2 separate regions of the Homo sapiens genome follow, and region 1 is linked to region 2. The links are contacts of gene promoters, found by promoter capture Hi-C in blood cells and fetal thymus (Javierre and others, 2016). All regions are on one chromosome and are shown on one strand. Each heading gives the region's core, a stretch centred on a gene start or on the middle of the fragment in contact. The rest is flanking DNA. Distances are from core to core; before and after follow the strand shown.

The links. The method cuts DNA at HindIII sites, captures the fragments that hold promoters and counts their contacts. A CHiCAGO score of 5 or more calls a contact.
Region 1: a contact is called between a fragment that was not itself captured here and the fragment with the promoter of SLIT1 in region 2, in 3 of 17 cell types (M1 macrophages, M0 macrophages and fetal thymus). The highest score is 6.3, in M1 macrophages.

Annotation. Positions count from the first base shown.
Region 1 is chr10:97,088,164-97,092,014 of GRCh38, forward strand. The region is part of intron 4 of SLIT1 (slit guidance ligand 1); the gene reads right to left. Among named protein-coding and RNA genes, the nearest start is that of SLIT1-AS1, 13 kb to the right of the region's middle. RefSeq lists an enhancer at 2,541-3,158. The HindIII fragment of the contact is 4,491 bases long and covers 8-3,851 here.
Region 2 is chr10:97,183,961-97,187,610 of GRCh38, forward strand. It overlaps SLIT1 (slit guidance ligand 1), which reads right to left and starts at 1,999. Exons shown (of 37, transcript NM_003061.3): 1 at 1,518-1,999. The coding sequence starts at 1,714. All of the region lies in intron 11 of ARHGAP19-SLIT1 (ARHGAP19-SLIT1 readthrough (NMD candidate)), which reads right to left. RefSeq lists enhancers at 1,843-2,343, 2,344-2,844. The HindIII fragment of the contact is 4,998 bases long and covers 1-3,611 here.

The sequences.
Region 1 (3,851 bases), core at 1,003-3,502, 96 kb before region 2:
TTTTCAAAGCTTCCAGGGGATTCCACAGGGCAGCCAGGGTTGAGAGCCCTCATTCTACACGTATGATCTCTAACCCTATCTTCTCTGTCCCTCAAACCCCTCATTTTGTCCTTTCCCACCCAGTGCCCCTCTTATGGTGCCACCTCTTTCTCCACCCCTTTCTCACAGTATTTCCAATGCCCCAGGATGACTGATGCTAACTAGGTGTTGAGGATATTGGGCCTGGAAGAGTAGTTCATACTAGGTGGTGAATGACTGACAGCCCTAATTTCTATGTGGTATGTCAGGGGGAGTTCTGGCTTAGGCTAGTCTATCATTGGTGACATCTGACCAGTCTGGGAATGTAAATGAAATGCTTTGGGCAGAGAGGGCTTTGCTGGTCGCCCTGGATTAGCTTTTTTTATACAGCTAAACGTACTATACAGGAAAGAGTTACACATGGCATGGGTGAAAGTTTGCTACTAAATTTAGACAGTTGAGCAAAGACACCTATGTGTCATCTGTGTGGATGTGCCCAAATCTCTGCATCCTGCTAACATTTTTGGTAGGAAAGAAAACAAAAGAAAGGGGAGTGAGTGAGGGGAGCACCTTCAGAAGCCAGGAACCAGGGCTGTGGGTGACAGGATCGCAGGGGCCCACGTCCATAAAGGAATGAAGCACTGTGTCTGCCACACCTTTTGGTGACTTGGTGTCAGCATCCCCACCCAAAACCCTCCCCTCATCCTCATGAGCTGTCATGGGGAGGATCTAGAGACCAAGGGAAGAAAGAGGCTGGATCACACTTGTTTATCAGATGAGCAGTGGCCAAACAGAAGCCAGAAGCCCCGGCCACTTGCCCAGCCTGCAGGTGCACTCCTGGGCAGCACCCTGCAAGGAGAAACTGCAGGAAAGCAATGGCTGAAGCCCTGCAGGAGCAGCAGCCAGCTCCCAGGTGCCAGTGCCACCACAGTGCAGCATCTGGGGGAAAGGCAAGGGAATCTGAGACAGAGAGAGAAAGGGAGGCAGTCCAGAGCCAGGAGACCAATGAAGAGAAAAGTGCAAAAACAGAATACAAAAGAAACAGAAGTGAAAGAAGAAAAAAAAGACAGAGTCAGACAGGAAGACACAGGGAGAGGCCAAGCCCCCCACGACTGGGGGTGAGGCTCTGAGCTGGGAAGCCTTGGGACTTCGCTTTTTGCAGCAGTGAGGGGTGGCAGTGAGTCCCTGTCGCACCTGACAGCCAGCTAAGGTGCAAATGAAAAGAACGCAGCGTGGGGCTGCTGGGGCCCTCGGCTCCAGGGCTCTGCTACTCCGTCTCTCTGGGCTGACTGCGCAGAGAGATAATTTGCCCATGGCTGGAGGTGTCAGACTCTGAAGATGAGTGTGAAGCCTGCAGGTGACCTGCCCACGGGGATGTGTCCTGTGTGACTAATCCCAGGCAGAGGTGGGAATGGAATTCTGGCCGCTGCAGCCCTATCTGAATCAGATCCCTGTGAGGCGGTGGAAGGTGTCCTGTCCTTACTCATGGCTGGGGGAGGGAGGCTTCAGCTGGGGGAGTAGGCTGAGGGATCAAGGCCAGCAGGGACGGCCTGTCATCGTGGAGGGGTGGGGTTCACCGGGGAGGATGGCTCATGTTCTGTCTCGTACATCACAAATCCAACAAGCATTTCACATGTCAGTTAAGGGCAGAAACTCTGGAGCCAGATTGTCTGGGCTGAATCCTGGCTCTGCTTCTCACTAGCTGGGTGACTCTGAGCTTGTCCCCTAACATCTCCGTGCCTCTCTTTCTTCTTGTATAAAATGGGAATAACAAATAGTAACAGTATCTAGCTGTGGTGGGGATTCAATAAGTAAGCATGTGAAGCATTCAGCTCAGTCCCTGCTGGCACATGTGTCTGTCACCAGCATCCTCGCCGCTGCTGTTCATCCAGGCCCTCTCCATTCTCAGGGCCGGACCACGGGCTTAGGCAGAGCAGCAACCAAGGCAAGGGAGCTCCATGCTTCCATCCCAGTGGGGGAGCCAAAAACCACCCACATGATTTCAGAGATGGAGGAGTGCCGTGAAGGAAACAGAACAGGAGCAGGATGGAGAGGGAGTGGGAAGCAGGGGCCCCTGCAGCCCGCGTGGTTGGTGGGCTTCCCTGTCTGTCAAGGGAGAAACGAAGTGACAAGAAGCAAGCAGCCAAGCAGAGTCCTGGGAAGAGCGTCCCAGGCAGAGGAACCAGCAGGCACAAAGGCCGTGAGGTGGGCAAGAGCTGGAAGTGTCAGGGAATAGAAAGAAGGTGGTGGCTAGAGCCATAGGCAGGGACTGGGTCACGGAGAGCCTCGGAGGCATGGCTGGGATGTGAGTTGGACTCAAAGTGAGTTGGAGTGTATTAGCAGGAGAGCAGCAGGGTCTGGCTGATATTTTATAAGGAGAACTGGTTTCTGGGAGGCAACTGGATTATAGGGTGTTGGGGGGGGCAGTGAAAGCAAGAAGCAACCCTCTTAACAGCCTTAAGAGGTAAAATTTTTAAGATGAGGACACTGAGCGCTGCCACAGGGTGGAAAAGGGCGGAAGAGGGTGCCACCAACAGCTCCCTTCACTGAGTGCTTGCACCACACCAGGCTCTGCACCTTGGCGCTTTCACAGAAGAGGTGAAATTGCAAGCCCCAAGTCGTCCAGCGGGTGCTGGGCCCTGGCAGGCCCTGGCTGCTGCCTCCTAAGCCCACGCTCCATCCATGAAAGTGGCCCTCTGCTAGTGCTGAAGGGGGTGGCAAGCAAGCCCCTGGGGCAGCCCCGGTTCTCAGTATGGCGGCAGAGCACATCTGCCCCTGCCTCACTGCCCCAGGAGGGGTTTGTTCAATGTCACAGGCAGTGCTGGAGGAAAAACTACTTTGTGATACACTTGAGATCATTCGTTGACATCAGCTGAGAAGATAGCTACTCTGTTCACTCCGGTTTGATATCATTCTATCACCTATCCCCATACTGAGAATTTGCCTCTTGCAAAAGGCAAGTGCTATGGATTCAAAGCACAGATTTGATTTTTTCCATTTCACATGAACTTTGCAGCTGCATCTGAAAACCAATTAGTGTGGATGTGCTCAGACACGCTCCATGCACCACTCCTGCCATCTTCTCCCCTGGAGAGGGGCTTCTCCTCATGTCTTTCCGTGAAGTGAGCCAGGTTCCTTAGGGGACTCACCTTTGTCTCACTATCCACTACTGATTAGGGTCTGTCCTCTGTGCAGTTACACACGAACTTGTAGATTTTTGTGTGGTAGAGTTGCAAATCATTACTGTCTGGTAGAAAAAATAACCTCAAGGTTTAGTTTATTAACCATGTCCAACATTAACCAATTTTGTATTGAACTTTGTAGTTTTATTTCAGTGTTCCCTGTCTTTCACTGATGATAAGCTCTCAGCCCCCCAAATTCTCCTTGAAACAACTTTACCATCCTGCTGGTCCCTTCATTCATGAATTAAATGTAAACTTTTGGCACATACCGCTTTATATTTGTATGACAGTCACACTTCTAGCTCGTTTACAGTCATACTTTGAACATGTTTTTATCTTCCTTTTGCAAATGAGAACACCGAGGCTGAGAGAAGTCAGGTTGCTGGCTGAAGTGCACAGAGCTCGTAGGAGCACAAACAGGGCTTGGACCCCCCTCTGTCCAATGCCAAGCCCATAGGCTAAGTGCCCTTGCAGTTCCCAAGTTGAAAAGAGCCTTAGAAATGATCTAAACAAGCTCCAGTCTTTTACAGGCCAGAACTAACTCTGAGGCCAGGAGTGGCGAGAAGTCTTGCTCACAATTCACACACTAGTAAAGGACAAAGGGCAACCTTGGCAGAAAGGAAGGTTTTCGGCTAACCATTGCCTCATCTT
Region 2 (3,650 bases), core at 749-3,248:
ACCACCTCTCCCCAGCCCTGTAACACACAAGCATTCACACACACACATACACATGCACCACACACACACACACACACACACACACACACACACACACACTTCCCATCTAGATTGCATCTAGATTGCAAATTCTCTAAAACCTCCACGGGAATTTTTCAGATGCAGCCAAGAAGAGTCTGGGGCAAATGTGTGCTCACTAATTGCTGGCCTTGGTACAGAGTCTGATTCGGGAGACAGCTCTCCTCAGGGTCAGATTTCTGTCTCTGACCAGCTGGGGGCCATGAAAATGTGCTCGAAAGTTATCAAAATATGCACACCTTTCCTGAGAGCCACTGCAGTCACCGAGGAGTGTGGGAAGGAGGAGTAGGTAGGTTTCAAAGGAGCCAGCAGCCTTCTCCAAAGCCCTGTTCAAAAATCTCCTGGTGTAGTCACCTCTGCGAGCAGTACAAAGGCCCTGCATGTGACCAAAATCTACACACACACAGCCCATTACGGGGACTCTCATGGCCTCACGCTATTAAGGTGGCCCCTTAATACTAGGAATTCACACAGAAACACATTCTGCAGGAGAGTCACAGAAAACAAAGTATAAAGGTCTGTAAATACACACACTCAAACACACCCAAACACACACACACACATTCTACTAGCTTACTGGGTCTAGAAAAGAAAAGGATCAAGTTTCCTCAAGAATTCACAAGTGAGACAGAACAGGGGAAGAGAAATGCTATTTTTTTATTACTTGTCATGGTCAATATCTTTAACCTTGGGCCCCCCTCTCCAAGCTCCTGACTTCTTGGCATTATCCACCGGGTTCTCCATCCAAGACACACCTGCCCCTTTTCGGGTGCTGAATGTTACATACCCCAAGCCCCATACCCAAAGCCCTCAGGTCCCATTGTCTGCCTGTGTTGGGGATGGCTGGGTGTGGAGGGAGGCGGGTGAGTAGGGGACCAACGCGTGGCACCTGCAGGGGAAGAATTCTCAAGGCTCTGGGGCAAACAATGGAGAAGAAGGGGCAGACCAGAAACTTCGCCTCCATCCCACCCTGCTGCCCTTCGTCAGGAGCAAGCTCTGGGAGCGGGAATCTGCGCAGCTGGCTCAGAACGCGGCCGTAGCCCCATGTGCCCAAAAGGAGACATTGTGCTTGGCGAGTGTGGGAAGTGTCCCTCCTGGGTGCAAGGAAGGCTTTCTGACACCAGTTCGCAGGCACCCTGGAGGAATAAAGCGCTGGCGCAGTGAGGAGGGCCTGAGGGTGCGGAGTGCAGGGTGCAGGGTGCAGGTGTGAGGACGGAAGCTGACAACCCCGCCGAGGGCCCTTTGAATCCCAGGGATGGGGAAACCACGGCGCTCCTGGCTCCTGGCTCGGGAAAGACCCCGGCAGGCACTGACCCGTCTGTGGGCTGCGGAGCCCGGACGGGCCCCAATGGTCCTGCCCCCACCCCCAAGTCCGGAATTGCGTCTGGGTGGGAGGGCAACCTCGGAGCCAGGGAGCCAGGGGCGGGGACCATACTCACAGGCGCTCGGTGTTCCGAGGTATATTCTTGGGAATGGCCTGCAGCCCCGTGCCGTGGCAGTCCACCGTGGTTCCGGTGCAGGTGCAGAGGGCGGGGCACGCCGAGGCACCCAGGCGCCACGCGGCTGCCCACAGCAGCAGCCAGAGCTCCGGCCGGACCGGCCCCGCCGAGGACCCCCACCCGGGAGTCAGCGCCATGGTGCCCTCACAGCGTCCCGCTCGCGAGCCAGACGGCAGCAGCCGCTGACCATCCCCGTCCGGGGCCGCCTCCAGGTGCAGTCCCGGGGCAGAGCCACCGAAGAGCCCGCGGGCTTGCGCGCGGCGCCCCTGCGGGCTGGGAGGCACCTTGCTCCTCCAAGCGACGGCGCCTGTGCGCGGACGGAGGGAGGGCGCCTTGGGCGGAGGGGGCTCGGCTCCTCTGCCGTTTCGCCGCCTGCGTCTCCCTCTCCCTCCCTCCAGCTCCCAACTGACTGCTGCGAGGAGGAAAATGGGCAGGCCCCGCGCGCGCACGCACCCTGCGCACACACCACACACACACACACGATCACACACACACCCGCGCGCTCGCTCCCACCCGGCAGTCATCCATCAATCGAAAAGCACACATCCAGGGCCAGGCTCCTCCCCGCCCTCCCCCGCCGCAGCCCCCCTCTCCCGACGACCACTCAGCGGCTGCAAGCCGCCTACAGTTTCAAAGGTGGAACCTCCGAGGCGCCGTCAGCGGGCACGGGGCTGCGGGGGATGGGAGAAGAGGGAAGGGGGTGTGACTCGACCCGCCAAGTCCTGGCTGTACACACACACACACACACACACACACACACACACACACACACACGGCGAGGATGCGCACATTTAGACGCACGCACCCCGGCACCCGCGGCCCCAGCTGCTAGTCCAGGGTGGGAGGGAGATCTTATTTTGCCGCTTGGACGCCTTCCCGGGGAGTCAGACCCGTTTCCCCCCATCCCCCGACGGCAGCAGCGGCCTCTCGGCCCCACCCGACTCGCTGTGTCAATTCTTGGTTAAGGGAAACCCTGTGCCTGTGCCCCAGGTAGCATCCTCAAGCCACCAACCTTACTTAGCCTGGACTTTGAGGATGGAGCTTTGTCGGGGGGGAGGGTCCACGAAAGCGCTAGGCGGAGTACAGTCTCCTTCCTACCTCAATGCACCCACTTCTCAGAGGGGAACAAGCTAGCCGCATGCCCAGGATGAGAATGGCTCTGATTGGAACACTTGCTCAGCAGGGCGTATTTGTACCATACAGTTACACGGGCTTCTTCCCCCGTTGTAGAAGAGAGGGACAGACATTAAGGGGACTTGGAAATCTGGCAAACGTCTTCCTCCACTCACACCAGCGTTCCTCCATTTCTGACAGGTGGAAACAGATGAAAATGAATATTCCATCTTGACATCAAAGGAGACAGAGAGGGCTGGCATAGCGCTGGGCGGCCTGCTTGGGAGAGAACCCCACAGGCCAGCCCCGTCAGACCCAGGCCTCACACCCGGCTGGGTAGGGACCTTCGTCACCGTAAGGCATGTGTGGACGTGGGTGTGAACGGGACATCCAGGTGGGGAGAGAATTCTCCTCAACCCCAGAAAAGACGAAAGATCTCCTCAACGCCAAGGACAGCTGTGGCTCGCTGGGGCAGTGTCCAGCAGTCGGGGCCTTGACGTGAGGCTGCTTGGCAAGAGGACACAGCTGGGTAGCCCGAGAAGCACCTCCCGTCTCAGGAGCGGCCTGGGTCCAGACACAGCATGGACGCATTTGGTGGGGAGAGTGTCGGGCAGGGTGGGGATAGGGGAGGTTGATAGACTCCACAAGGTTGAAGCCTTATCACCCACCAGGTACCCAAGGCTCAGGCGTTTTCTTTGCTTTTCTTTTCCATGTTGATGAGAATTTTGCAGTCTCTCTACTGTCATAGCACAGTATGTTACAATTTAGGTGGCTGATTTTATGGGCTTTTGACAGTTCTTTTAAAGTTTTCACACATCCCTGTCCATGACCTCCATCCGGTAAGTGGGTTCTTGAGCATAAGTTCAGTTTCTCAGGGGGCAGGGCTTTCTCAGGGGTGCCTGTGTGGTGGGATATTAGGGAAGCTTCCCACAAACCAGGCCGGAGTCTGAGAGGGCTGCC